Regions from separate parts of the Homo sapiens genome. Here regions 1 and 2 are each linked to region 3. The links are contacts of gene promoters, found by promoter capture Hi-C in blood cells and fetal thymus (Javierre and others, 2016). All regions are on one chromosome and are shown on one strand. The core of a region is centred on a gene start or on the middle of the fragment in contact, and the rest is flanking DNA. Distances in the headings are between cores, read along the strand shown. Region 1 has its middle 3.6 kb from the start of GPR45. Region 2 holds the start of LOC124908045. Region 3 holds the start of MRPS9 (mitochondrial ribosomal protein S9).

The links. The method cuts DNA at HindIII sites, captures the fragments that hold promoters and counts their contacts. A CHiCAGO score of 5 or more calls a contact.
Region 1: a fragment that was not itself captured here is called in contact with the fragment with the promoter of MRPS9 in region 3 in 2 of 17 cell types (total B cells and naive B cells); the score reaches 6.3 in total B cells.
Region 2: a contact is called between a fragment that was not itself captured here and the fragment with the promoter of MRPS9 in region 3, in 2 of 17 cell types (total B cells and naive B cells). The highest score is 6.1, in total B cells.

Annotation. Positions count from the first base shown.
Region 1 is chr2:105,236,123-105,240,168 of GRCh38, reverse strand. No RefSeq gene overlaps it. Among named protein-coding and RNA genes, the nearest start is that of GPR45, 3.6 kb to the left of the region's middle. The HindIII fragment of the contact is 7,123 bases long and covers 1-4,046 here.
Region 2 is chr2:104,864,836-104,869,033 of GRCh38, reverse strand. It overlaps LOC124908045, which reads left to right and starts at 1,833. Exons shown (of 2, transcript XM_047446880.1): 1 at 1,833-2,606; 2 at 3,419-4,198. LINC01159 (long intergenic non-protein coding RNA 1159) reads left to right here. Exons shown (of 2, transcript NR_110373.1): 2 at 642-3,537. It also overlaps a transcript of POU3F3 not described here. RefSeq lists a silencer at 1,189-1,483. The HindIII fragment of the contact is 270 bases long and covers 2,269-2,538 here.
Region 3 is chr2:105,035,893-105,040,103 of GRCh38, reverse strand. It overlaps MRPS9 (mitochondrial ribosomal protein S9), which reads right to left and starts at 2,035. Exons shown (of 11, transcript NM_182640.3): 1 at 1,877-2,035. The coding sequence starts at 2,011. It overlaps MRPS9-AS2 (MRPS9 antisense RNA 2), which reads left to right and starts at 1,608. Exons shown (of 3, transcript NR_110603.1): 1 at 1,608-1,650. RefSeq lists enhancers at 1,053-1,995, 1,749-2,078, 2,249-2,298, 2,349-2,398, 2,419-2,628. The HindIII fragment of the contact is 6,591 bases long and covers 1-4,211 here.

The sequences.
Region 1 (4,046 bases), core at 996-3,495, 200 kb before region 3:
TCTCTTTTCTAAATTCCTTGTGGTCATTGTTACAGATAACTCACACTGAGAGGAATGTGGGCAATGTAAGAAGCCAGGAGGCCTCAGAGCAGGCTTAGAGGACCTGGGAGTGGCAGTGTCTTGGTGATGCTATACTTCAGTTTAGACCCAACCAATCCTTGGTCTTCCTTCCCAAACACACCCAGAATGGGTTCATCTCTCAGTGGTGGGCACCAGTATCCAAACTTTTTCTGAGCTATAAAAATCAGAAACCTGGTGTGTTAATTTATAAGTGGGAATTATCTCTCATTCAGACCAAAATTATGACCCTTCTTCATCTCAATTTTCTGATCTGTGAAATGGAGGTAATTACATATTTACCTCCAGAGTTGGTAAATATAATGTGCAATGTCTGGTAAAAGAAGGGCATTAATAAATTAACTCCATCTCCCTCACTGTTTCAAGTTTAGGGGTTTCTGTCTCTTGGATTAAACTGCAAATTTGTTCATGGCAGGAACCATGACATGCATGTAGGAAGCCCTAATGGATTAAGCTCCTCTTGGAGCACAGAATAAAGGACCACTGAGAAAAAACACAGTATCGTGCATCCATGTGCCTGTCAATCTTAGCCGATAGTGAATCCTTCATCTGCATTCCTCTCCATGCTATAAACTTAGATTTTCCCCACAATGATAGTTACAGAGAGTGATTTCATGCTTAATTAAAGGAACAAATAGTGCAAGGTATTTTTTTTAATGTATATGTCTTGTGGTTGAATCTGATTAAAATTCTTTTGGCTTCTGGACAACAACCTGTCTTAGGTATTTTAATTTAGCATTTTGGTCACAGTCCTGTTGTTAATATCTGAATCAACAGTGCTTTTATTACAAGGGACTAGGGCACTAAGATCTAAGTAAAAGGTAACAAGTGAACAAGAAATATTCTGCTGGTGTTCTTGGAGTAACAGCACTCACCGTCTCCAGCGACTTTCACGATGAGAAATGGGTGCCACAATATGAATTTAAAGCTGTGAAAGAAGCGAGCTGGGAACTGAACCGTTTCAAGGTATTTGTTTTAGTTCCTTTCCAAATGATCTCACCCTGGAACTGGGAGGCTGTGCAAGTGTCAGGAGGTAAATCTTCATCTCTGACTGAAGTGTGATTAATCAACTAAGGAAAGTGTGACCAGGCTGTGTGCTGCTGTGTGCCATGGTGTGGCTAGCTGTGCTCTGGCAGAGGCTTCAGTGAGCTGTGTCCACGCAAAAGATAGAAGGCGCTTTCAGCAAAGCGGACACGAGGCCACCCATGCATTGTGTTTACTGCAAGGTTTTCTAAAGCCTTCCCTCTGCATCCTCACGCCTGGCAAGAAGGCAGGGAAATTATGAAAGGGAAGCTCAGATACAGTCACGACAAGCCCCAGTTCAGCAAAGTAGTGACCAGTGGAGCCGAGACTGGAAGCTGAGACTCCAACAGAAAGATGGTTCTGTGGTGAGGACGGTGGCTTGGGGAGGATGACTTCACGTCTGTGACACTGACAAGCATAGGGAAAAGAAAAACCATCCTCCCACCCCCAAGCTACACCAGTTGAGGTACAGACAAATTTCAAACAAAATCCCACTCTGTTCTCCTTTCCCAGTAGATAAAGAATGGGCTTCTAAAAACTGACCTTCAGCGGGGCGCGGTGGCTCACGCCTGTAATCCCAACATGTTGGGAGGCCGAGGCAGGCGGATCACGAGGTCAGGAGATCGAGACCATCCTGGCTAACATGGTGAAACCCCGCCTGTACTAAAAATACAAAAAATTAGCCAGCCGTGGTGGCCGGCGCCTGTAGTCCCAGCTACTCGGGAGGCTGAGGCAGGAGAATGGCGTGAACCTGGGAGGCGGAGCTTGCAGTGAGCCGAGATCGCGCCACCGCACTCCAGCCTGGGCGACGGAGCGAGACTCCGTCTCAAAAAAAAAAAAAAAAAAAAAAAAAAAAAAAAAAAAAGAACTTAGTGAGGATGAGGGAAAGAACCTTTGTCTTTGCTCTCCAAATAGGACAACTCTATGTGCGACCACCAGGGGGCGCGCTGGGGCAGCCTCGGGAGGCTAGGAAGTATCAGTGTCTGGCCTGCCAAAGCCTTTCTTCCTCCCTCCCTCCCTCCCTTCCTGCCTCCCTCCCTCCATTCCTGCCTCCCTCCCTTCCTTCCTTCCTTCCTTCCTTTTTTCCTTCCTTACTTCTCTCTTTTTTCCTTCCTTCTTTTTCTCTCTCATTTCTTTCTTTTATCTTTCTTTGTTCTCTTCCCCTTTTTCTTTTGCCAACTTTAAAAGTCTTTTTATTATGTTAAATTTCAAACATGCAAAAAGAGATAACATAGTATAGCAAAGCACCACTTGGCTACGCTTTTGAGCTGTGTTCCCTCCGTTTCCTTCCATTTAAGCTGGCACTTCCTGGTCCACATACACCTCCCGTCCAGGCTTTTGTTTCCAGTGCAGTAGGGAGATCCTGCCAGGTTTTCTTGGGGAGAGGAGGCCAGGCTGTGAGTGGCCTCGTGAGACAGACATGAGAGGGGAAAATGCGGCCCAGGAGAGCTTTGAGGGACTGGGGGACACAGCGGAGGTCCCTGCAGCGGCGCCAGGGCAGCTCTCCAGGACTCTACCGTCCTCCTAAGGCCTGGTCAAGCGGGGATTCGAGTGGCCTTCTGCTCGCAAACTTGGCGTTTCAGGTAGCAACTCTCATCTTCGGCTGGGAATATGTTTGGCTTTAAGTGGTCAGGAAGGAGAAGGTAAGAAATGCCTGTCTCCCTTTCCCATCCTCAAGATCAGGCGTGAAGACGATCCTGTCTCCCTTTCCCATCCTCAAGATCAGGCGTGAAGACGATCCGCCGGACCCTGATTGAAGCGGGGAGGGATAATGCCTTGCGAGGGGACAAAGGCGGGCAGAACCAGAGAGACCTGCGGAGGCACAGTCGGGGCAGCCCCGTGGCAGGGAGCCGAGCAGCAGCGGCGATTGCCACGTGGAGGAGGTAGACTTCCTGGCAACCGGTCGGTGAGCCCCGCGCGACCTTCAGCAAGAGCGCACGCCTCTCCTTCCTCCCAGCGCTGAAACTGAATGGTCGAAAGGCACTGCGTGGCGACGGCGGAATGGATTATTGTGTCTGAGGTCCCGTCCCGTCCAGAAAGCCTGCAGCATCACTGTTAGGTGTTCAGGAAAATAACGGAATCTTCCCCACCTTCAAATCCCACATGCTATCGTATCCTCCCCAGCAACTCCACTTGCCCCCTGTGACACTGCCCCTGTACCTCCAGCAAAAGCTGCCCTGGGCTCGTCCTTGTTCCCACGTGGCTTCGTCTGTCGGAGCATCCATTCCTATTGGCCCCTTCCCCAGCTCTGCGTCGAAAGGTGTTGCGTGCATCCCGGTGCCTCTGCACCTGGACCCTGTGGGATCGAGGCTGCGCCCAGGTGCGTTCCTGGTGTAAGGCTGCCAACCCCTGATCCGCGAAGGAAGCGCTCATATGCGCAGTGGGAGTAGGCGCAGTTCTTTTGGAACTGTTTTTCACAAACATTAAGAAAAAAGTCAGGTACACACTACACACAGGTACATCTACATTTTAATTATCAGATTTTGAATTATATATATATATATGCATTTACATATATATGTACATCTGATAGAATTTGCTTTCTCTCTGCTGGTTCTATTTCAGCCAAATGGTGGGAAATTTGTTGGGCTCTTTCTCCATAGTCTTTAATATTGCTGCAGGTAAAACCAATTGGTTTTGTGATATTGGATTTTTAATCCCTGCTCCAGAAGAACATATTGGTTCAAAAATGTCAAATCTAAGAAATGAAGTCAATTTTGGCAGACGGGGAAGCTAGGAACAGCCCTTTGCTGTGGGAACAGCTTGACTCTGTCATTACCTGCAACCTTGTCACCTGTCTTTTTGATACAAACTCTCAAACAGATGGTATATTTCAATTTCAATAACTTTATTGGCGATGAAAAAATATGCAAGAGCTGCCAAAAGTAATACATCAAGTAGCTGTGTTTAGAAACAGGTGTCGTGCCACGTGTCTTAACTTCAAA
Region 2 (4,198 bases), core at 1,154-3,653, 170 kb after region 3:
CCCACCTGTTTTCAGTTCTTTCTTTGTGGCTTAAGATTGCATTTTTGGAGGGTTTATGTAATGTTGTTCACGTCAGCAAGTCTCCCTGCCCCACCCTCACCCCACTGTCCTATATGGAATTATAGTTGGAAACCACACACACATAGAAAATCTTTGAAGATTTTTTTCTGCTATTCTTCCTGACTAGAAGAGTTGACAAGACATAGACACATTCAGTTGCATAAAATACAGTAGCGTGATCAGCCTAAATGCATCTCATTTGCACTGTTTGTAACCAGGGGTGGGGGCTTGTGTCACTCATTGCCTCCCCCTCCTCTGCCCAAACCAGACCCGCCAGCTGGAATTTCAGAGCAGGCCCCAAGGCAGCAGCCATTTGGGAAGTGGAAGCCCTAGCCCACCCCAGTCCAGCAGGGGTGCGGGGTGGATAGAGAAGGTGTCTGGAGGTCTGGCCTGAGGGCTTGGACCAACTTTGGCAGACCTGGGCTCTGGGAGGCTTGGCCGGTGGGTGACCACAGCTGGAAGTTGGAGGTCTGCAGCGATGCTTCTGAGCTTCTCCTGAGTTGAGTTCAAGAAAGGGGACACCAAGAAGTAGGGGAACAGTCACTGACTATATTTTACATCCACGCCTACCCCTTTCCCAGAGTTGTGTTCTCACCACCCACTTTGTCGGCGGAGGAGAAACACTGCTGCCTGATGCTTGCACTGCTGCACTGTTCTTGCACCTGCTCCTAGCCCTGAACTCGGGCCCTGAGCTCCTCACTGCCGCCCGCTCTGCGCTGAGCCCCACTCCTGAGACCGCGAGGTGCCAGAGCAGCGCCTCTCCCACCAACTCCTAGACGCCTGTAGGAGCTGCGCCGGAGCCTTCAGAACCCCATGGGGGTGTGGGGGTGAAGTTGGAGGTCATCCGGGTGATTTTTTTCTTACTTTTTCCTAATTGTTCTCCTGCGTTGATTTCAACTCTTCCAGTCTCCCGGTGCTGGGGCGCCAATCCTTTCCCAACAATTCCTACCCACCAGCTGGAGGTCGGGGCCCAGGGTTACCCCAGAGTTCTATGGTGGCAGGGGGCGCCGAGTAGAGGGGCGGGAGGAGCTGGGTCCTCGGGAACCAAAGGGGACCTCAGCGGGGGCGGAGTGCGCAGCCTTGGCTGCTGGGAAATGCCCAACTAGCCGCTGTGAGTGCCCACAGCGCGTCGTGGGGGCGTCCGTTCTGCAGCTCGGGTGACTCAGACGCCCTGCCAACCCCACCAGCTCCCGGCTTCTCGAACGCTCTTCTGATCGCCCAGCGGGGAGACTTCAGGGCCTGCCTCGTCAGGCCAGATTGCAGCCCGCGACCTTCCCGGATTAACCAAGGGCGGGGCCTGTTGCCCAGCAAGGCTGCTGCCTAACTGAGCCTCCCGGGGAACAGCCATGACCAAAGCCCCGCGGGCCCAGGCGCGGGCACCTACCCCTACCCGCTCAGGCCTGTGGGAGCGCAGGGGCAGAGGCCGAGACGCTGGACTTCCAGCCCCACACCTCTGACAACCCGGGCACGTCTGCGGAGCCCGGGGGAACAGTCAGCGGGCTCTGCGTCCCGGGAGCTGGGGACACGCCTGCAAGGTGTGTGATCCTTTAAAGATCCTTAGTACTAGTTTTGTAGGGAGCCTTTGTTATAGCTTTGTCAGCCTGCGCGCCTTCAGCAGCTCCCCCTCCCGGGCCCCTCGGTTCCCTCCGGGCTCGCCCCCAGCGGAGAGGGCCCGGCGCAGGGGATCTGCCCAGGATCAACTGCCCTCTTCCAGATCCCCTTCTGCGAGATTCTTTTCCTTTGGTTACAATCTCCCCTCCGTGCCTGGGGCAGATAAACACGGTTCGCCCCGCCTGCAGTATTGGGGCGATGCTGTCCTGGAAGAACGGGCTTTCTGAATGTGACCTCGGGATGCTGCAGCGGCGCAATGCTGCTACTGCTGAATGAGTAGCTCTCCTGCCACCGCAGGGCGACTGCGGTGGGCACAGCAGGGCGCACAGAGGAGGGGGTAATCTGCCCACCCAGGCTAAGGATTTGAGGGTTCTGACAAAAAAGAGCTGGTTGAGGATGACACAGTTGTGAACTAACCTGGCTCCTACTACCCCACAGGGCAGCCAGGTCCCAGTAGTCTTGGGTACCACTGCCCCCACCATACCACCATTGTAAAGTATGGACTCCTGCTTAGCCAACGTGCAGCTCTAGGCAGGATCTCTGAAGGATGCTCTGGCACACAGATGGTGCAGGTATGACTTTACCTGCACACAAGCTTACATGTGCCCTGTCATATATGGCTACACGTTTCCCCATTTCCCCACAGTCTTCCTATTTAACTGGTCTTCAATCCTCCTTTCTAGGGCTTTCCGCCTGCACACAGTCATTTGGAGAAAATCAAGTGAGTGCACTTCTCCCCACAGAGGATTCTGTATGTTATGTAACACACTCACACTGGGATTCCTCAAGTTACCATTTTGCCCCAACTCAGCCAGCACTTGGTTTTCTGGCGGGGGTGTCAGGATGATGCAAATGGAGGTGGAAGCTTCATTCCCTGGGGGCTTTTATTCCCCTCCTTGAAGCCCCAGTTCAAGGCCCAGGAACAAAGGGGAAAGGTAACTGATCTCTCTTTTGGTCTTTCTCTCCCCTCACTTCCACCCCTTCACCTGCAGGCCCTCCTCTTTGATAAATAGAGGAAAGCCCGTGGGATCAGGTACATATGTAAATACTGCTGACCTCGGCCGCCCCTCCTCACCGAAAAGCAGAAAGCCCGTTTCAGGTGCAGGCTGCTCCGTGCCTTTGAGTGTCCACCACTTCTATTCCCCCAGACTGCTTGGGACTCAAGGCCACTCACTTAATACCCGTCTCTTGTTAAAAACATTCAGGACAACTATTAAATAGTTATTGGAAGAGTTAAAGACCTTCTTTCAGGAGTGAAACGTTTTTAAAGCTGTGCTTGGCATAAGTCTTTAAGGCGTACAAAGTAGAATCAGTAGACTTGCCTGAGCGATTTTGAAATTTGAAAGATTTCTCCCCATGAAATGGTAATTTAAAATAGTTTGTAGATGTTGTTTTGTTCTGTGATGGCTTTTTCACCATTGTCACCTAAAGATTCTCAAGACCAAGCTACTAAGACATTTCATTTGGTTAGTTTCTGGGTGATACTGTGCTTTCTGATTAGACCTATTTAATTTATTTTTAACTCTGCAGGAGAGTTTTCAACCTTGGAAATGTAAGTGAAACACAGACTCACCCTCCTTCTGAGACCTTGATAGGGGCAGAAAGGAACAAATCTGGCTAGCCCCCCTCACACCTGGAAGTTTCCCTGTCTAAACCTGGGTACAATGAGCGTGGTGGGTTTTGTCACCTTTTATTTTATTGCTGGCTCAAGGAAAATTCTTTGAAATGAACATCTATTCTATTTCAGTGTGCAATGTTCCAGCCGACTTAATGGGCTTGCCTTATGCGGAGAGGCAGTCCTGCAGGACAGAGCTAATGTGTGGTCTCCCAGGAAGCTCATCAGAACACCTCTTGTCCCTTTTCTTTAAAAGAAAAAAAATTTAAAAAGTTTTTGCTTCCATCTCAATGTCCATTCCATTATTTTGTAGCTACAATAAAGAAACATGGGCAGCAGTGATCATTCTTTTTGTCCTATGTAATCATGTCTAGTGTTAGGACCTTACAAAGCTCCAGACATACCTCAGGTGTATTCTGCACTTTTCATATTTATTCACTGCTCACTGGGTCACACAGATGATTCACACTTGATTCCACCTTCCTCTGGACAACTCTCCCTCAAACAACACCCCTCTATCAACTTATAGGGAAAGGAGATTCACTTAGAGAAAACTTCTTGAATTAAAGACCAGACTCAGTTTCGCCAGGTAACTAATCCTGGCATACCGGTGACTAGGAAGTCATCACCTAACACTCTACCTAGATATAAACTCTCAGGAAGGAGGCAGGCCGGTGGGGACATTTCCACAGACATTTCTAAAACTGTGGCAATTGAGTATATTTTACAGATACAATTTTGGTAGATTCCCATCCAGCTTAAGACATTTAAAATGCAATTTTGTTCACACGCATGTGCGCGCACACAGACACACACGCACGTGTCAACTAGGGTGATATTAACAGTCCATTTCCACTGGGCAATTCTGTGACAGCAACTACAACTAACAAACTTCTTTTCTGAAGAGTAAAA
Region 3 (4,211 bases), core at 786-3,285:
CTAAGTGTTTCAGTTATATCTGAGCTGTACTTAATGTGGTAAAATATATGCTGTAGTAGTATTCAGGAATCTGGGGATTCAGCCATTTCAGGACCATCCCTTAAGAGTGCTAAGGGTGGATACTATCTTGTAATTGTTTGACTTTAAATTGTTTACTTCACAGTGCCTGGCTCAGGTAAAGTGCTCAGTAAACATTTGCCATATGGGGGAAAGAGGTTGTTTCAAGAATGGTCAAGGAGATGAAAATTAAAGTAACAGGAGAAATCATTCTTCATCCATTTTACTAAACCAGTACTTAAGAACTAGACCAGATGTTTACTGAAACTTTATTAGTGCAAAGAAAGTAGAAACAAAGCAAATGTCCATCAATTGTTACATTAACTTTGATATATTCTTATCATGGAATAGTATGCAGCAGTTAAAAATGCTTTTAAAAACATAATAGGGGACCCTGAAGGATTTCTACTTTACAATATACTGCATATGTACAAGAGAAAAGCAGAAAGTAAAATGCAATCAAATATGGTACCATTTTTTGTAAAGTACACCTGTGCATGTATGTTTATGCATGATTATAAGAACATGGAAAAAACATAGAAGAATAGATACCAGGAGGGACAGAAAGTTAGCCATCCCCCAATACATACATTAAATGTCAACAATAAAAATACTCTGTATGATATAGTCCCTCTCATAATCATGCGTATGTAGCAAAGATATACTCAAAGAGATGCATGAAAAAATAAAAATTTCTAGCACATTTTCCAGTAAGAAAAAAAAAAAAAACAAATGTCCACATGAATAGATAGAATGGACTGGTTGATCTAGATTAAAATATAAAGGAAAGAACATACAAAAAGATGTTTTTTTTTTTAAATATAGTTTTTAAAGTATGGTATTTGACTTTCCTGCAATAATTGGTACTTGTTATCACTCTCCCTCCTTGAAACATTCACCTGTTTTCCATGACACCACACTGGCTGGTTTCTCTCCTGCTTCTTTGGTCCCTCATTCTCAATCTCTTGAGGCCTCTTATTTCTTATTTGTCCTTCAGGGCCCTGTCCCTCTGCCTACTCCTCAGTACACTCTCCCTAGGTAATTTAATTTGTTTACAAGGCCTCAGTTACCATTTACAAGGTAACAGGGCATTTCGAAATCAGTTCTCCTCCTGAGCTATACACTTGACTATCCGTAGACCTACTGGAAATCCCAGATGCCTAAAAACATAATCCCATACTAAACTCGTTTCTTCCCTCTCAAATCTTTTTCCTGCTCTGAGATCGCATGTCAGTAAACTGGCATCATCAGCCATCCAGCTGTTGACTCCCCACTTCTCCCTGGATTAAACGAAACGTACAAGTTCTGGCCTGCATCTTTCCATAGAGGGGGATTCGGGAAAATTAAGAAGCCAGAAATTGCGCATATTGAAGGCACTTTCAAAAAGTCACTGTCCTCTACACAACGTGACTTTCTCCATTGTCTTCCAGGCACCTGCAGGAATCCAATTCCCATCATTCTTCTCTGGCGCGGCCCTCCTCCTCCCTAGACAGCAGGGCAGGGTAGGACTGGACCCAACACAGACCTAGGCACCGACCCTTACTTAGCTCAGCAGCCAAATGAAGGAGGAGGTCGCTCCACTTCTACCTTCAGGTAAGTTCCCCTCGCTGCACCCCGCAAAAAAACAAGTAACAACCTCTAGAGCGGCTACTGCACGCCAATACCCACCTCCTCCCCCCCAACCTCAGACCTCCACTAAATACCTAAGATCCTAGAGTCCCTGCCTGAAGGCACGCGAGACGCTGGGGGAAGGTGTCCGCGCTGGCTCCACATCCTCGCGCGGCAGAGGTAAGCCGCTTCCAGTCTTCCCAGGCCTTACCTGGGATCTGACATTTGTTTGCAACTCAGGGGCCGCGGTTTTCCAGAGGCCTTGCTTCCGGGCGAGGCTACCCCTACCCCAGAGAAGAAGCCGGTACGAAACTGCTCCGCCGTAGGACACACAGGGCGCCGCCATGTTAGCTGTGGGAGCTCCAGGACCGGAGGGGTGAGGGGGCGGGGCCTAGAGACGGCGCAGGCGCTAATGGCGCGGGGTTCCAGAGGCTGTCCTGTGCAAGAGCTTCTCGGGCCTTTGGATCAGGGGGCGTGTCCCGCGATCCGCGACAGCTCGTCGCTGATTGGGTGCATGGTGTCCGCGGGGCGTATCCGACTCCACCCCTGCTCGGTGTCGACCTCAAGAAGGATCGCTGGTGGGTCGTTTTTCTCGGCCTCTTTCTCTTCACGTCCTGAACTCAGTCTCTTCGGGACTCACTTCCACGCTCTCCTAGTCTCTTTGGCACTCACATCCACGTGGCGCTTTAGCCAGCCCTTCCTTCCCAGCCCCCTTGCTGCACCTCGAGCCGGCTCTTCCTCCACCTGGGCAGGGCGGCCGGGGCCCCAGATGCGCTCCAAGCCTTGATTCCTGTCTGCCTTATCCTAGTAGGGGTTTTCCCCTCCTCTAACTTTCCACGTTCGTCTGGTTCCAAGTCAAGACTCTCCTGCAGCAACTGTCAAGCCCCTCTCGGTTCCCTGGCACTCTCCTGCGTTGTTTCTTAACTGTATAATGCACAGGATAAACCTTAAACCGGTAAGGTCAAACACTACCTTTCTCGTTTTTGCACGCCCCTCCCTAAGCGTTGGTACTAAGCCTTACTTGAAACCCAATCAGAACTGATTAATTGTTGAATAGAGATGAGTATGTCTTGCTTTCTGAAACTTGCGTGCTCCTGGCAGTTAACTCCCAGGTTGCTTTCTACGAAACACATACTAAATGATGTAGTAACGCACTTTAAAAGGGTTTACACACACTTAGATTTGAAGGGTCAGTAAAAGTAAAACACACAGAAAATCTGAGATCATACAAAGTTGTCAAGCAAATAAATGCCGTCTACTATCACCATCATTTCACGAAACAGAACTTTTTAGCATTAAAAAGGTAGAATGGCAGAATTTCACAATAAAGAAAAATCTTTTAAATGGAATACATTTACTTGTATAAAATGCTCATCCTGTTGTTCTTTTTGTTATTAGCTTTTAGACTAGCAAAAGATATCTTGAGAAATTGGCAGAGGTCGGAGGACTAAACTCTGATTTTTTTATCTTGCCCAAGATTCCTATCTACAGGATTTGGGGAGTCATGCCCTACAAATCATAAATTCTTATTAGATGGGTTTTACTTAACCCTATATATGGTGACTTACTTTCCAACCTGACTCTGGCATAACATTACAAGACAAGGAAGAAAATCAAAATATTTTACCCCAAAACATGTTTCTTTGCCATATCTTGAAATGGCCCTGCAAAGCTGTCCTTGGAGGGGTGGGATATGCATCTGTAAAGAATCTGTATTAACATAGCTAGATCTTTTTCTTCCAGACCCTCCCAATCCTAAAGAGATTAACTAAGATCTGAATAGGAAACATTTGTCATCCATTGTCTCTAAGGGCAGCCACTGTAAGACTTACAGAGAACTTTGGTCTCCACAATCTTTATCTTAAACTGAACATTCCCTTTCTATCAGTCCCAGGTCTTTCTGGACCAAACCAATGTATTTCTTAAATGTGTTTGATTGATGTCTCATGCCTCCCTAAAATGTATAAAATCAAGTTGCGCCCTGACCACCTTGGGCACAAATTCTCAGGACCTGCTGAGGACTGTGTCATGGGCCATGATCACTCATATTTGTCTCAGAATAAATCTCTTCAAAATATTTTACAGAGTTCGACTCTTTTTGTCAACGGATGGATAAACTAGCATTTGGGAATCAAGACTTTATTTATTTATTTATTTTATTTATTTTGAGATGGAAGTTCGCTCTTGTCGTCCAGGCTGCAGTGCAGTGATGTGATCTCGGCTCACTGCACCTTCTGCCTCCCGGGTTCAAGCGATTCTCCTGCCTCAGCCTCCCGAGTAGCTGGGATTATAGGTGCCCACCACCATGCCCAGCTAATTTTTGTGTTTTTAGTAGAGACAGGGTTTCGCCGTGTTGGCCAGGCTGGTCTTGAACTCCTGACCTCAGGTGATCTGCCCGCCTTGGTCTCCCAAAGTGCTAGGATTACAGACGTGAGCCACCGCTTGCAGCAGAGAACCAAGACTTTATAGCTCATTAAAATAGATGTCTTTAAACAGCAGTTCCTACACATTGTGAGATTATTTAAAAATTTTTTAAAATCTTAATT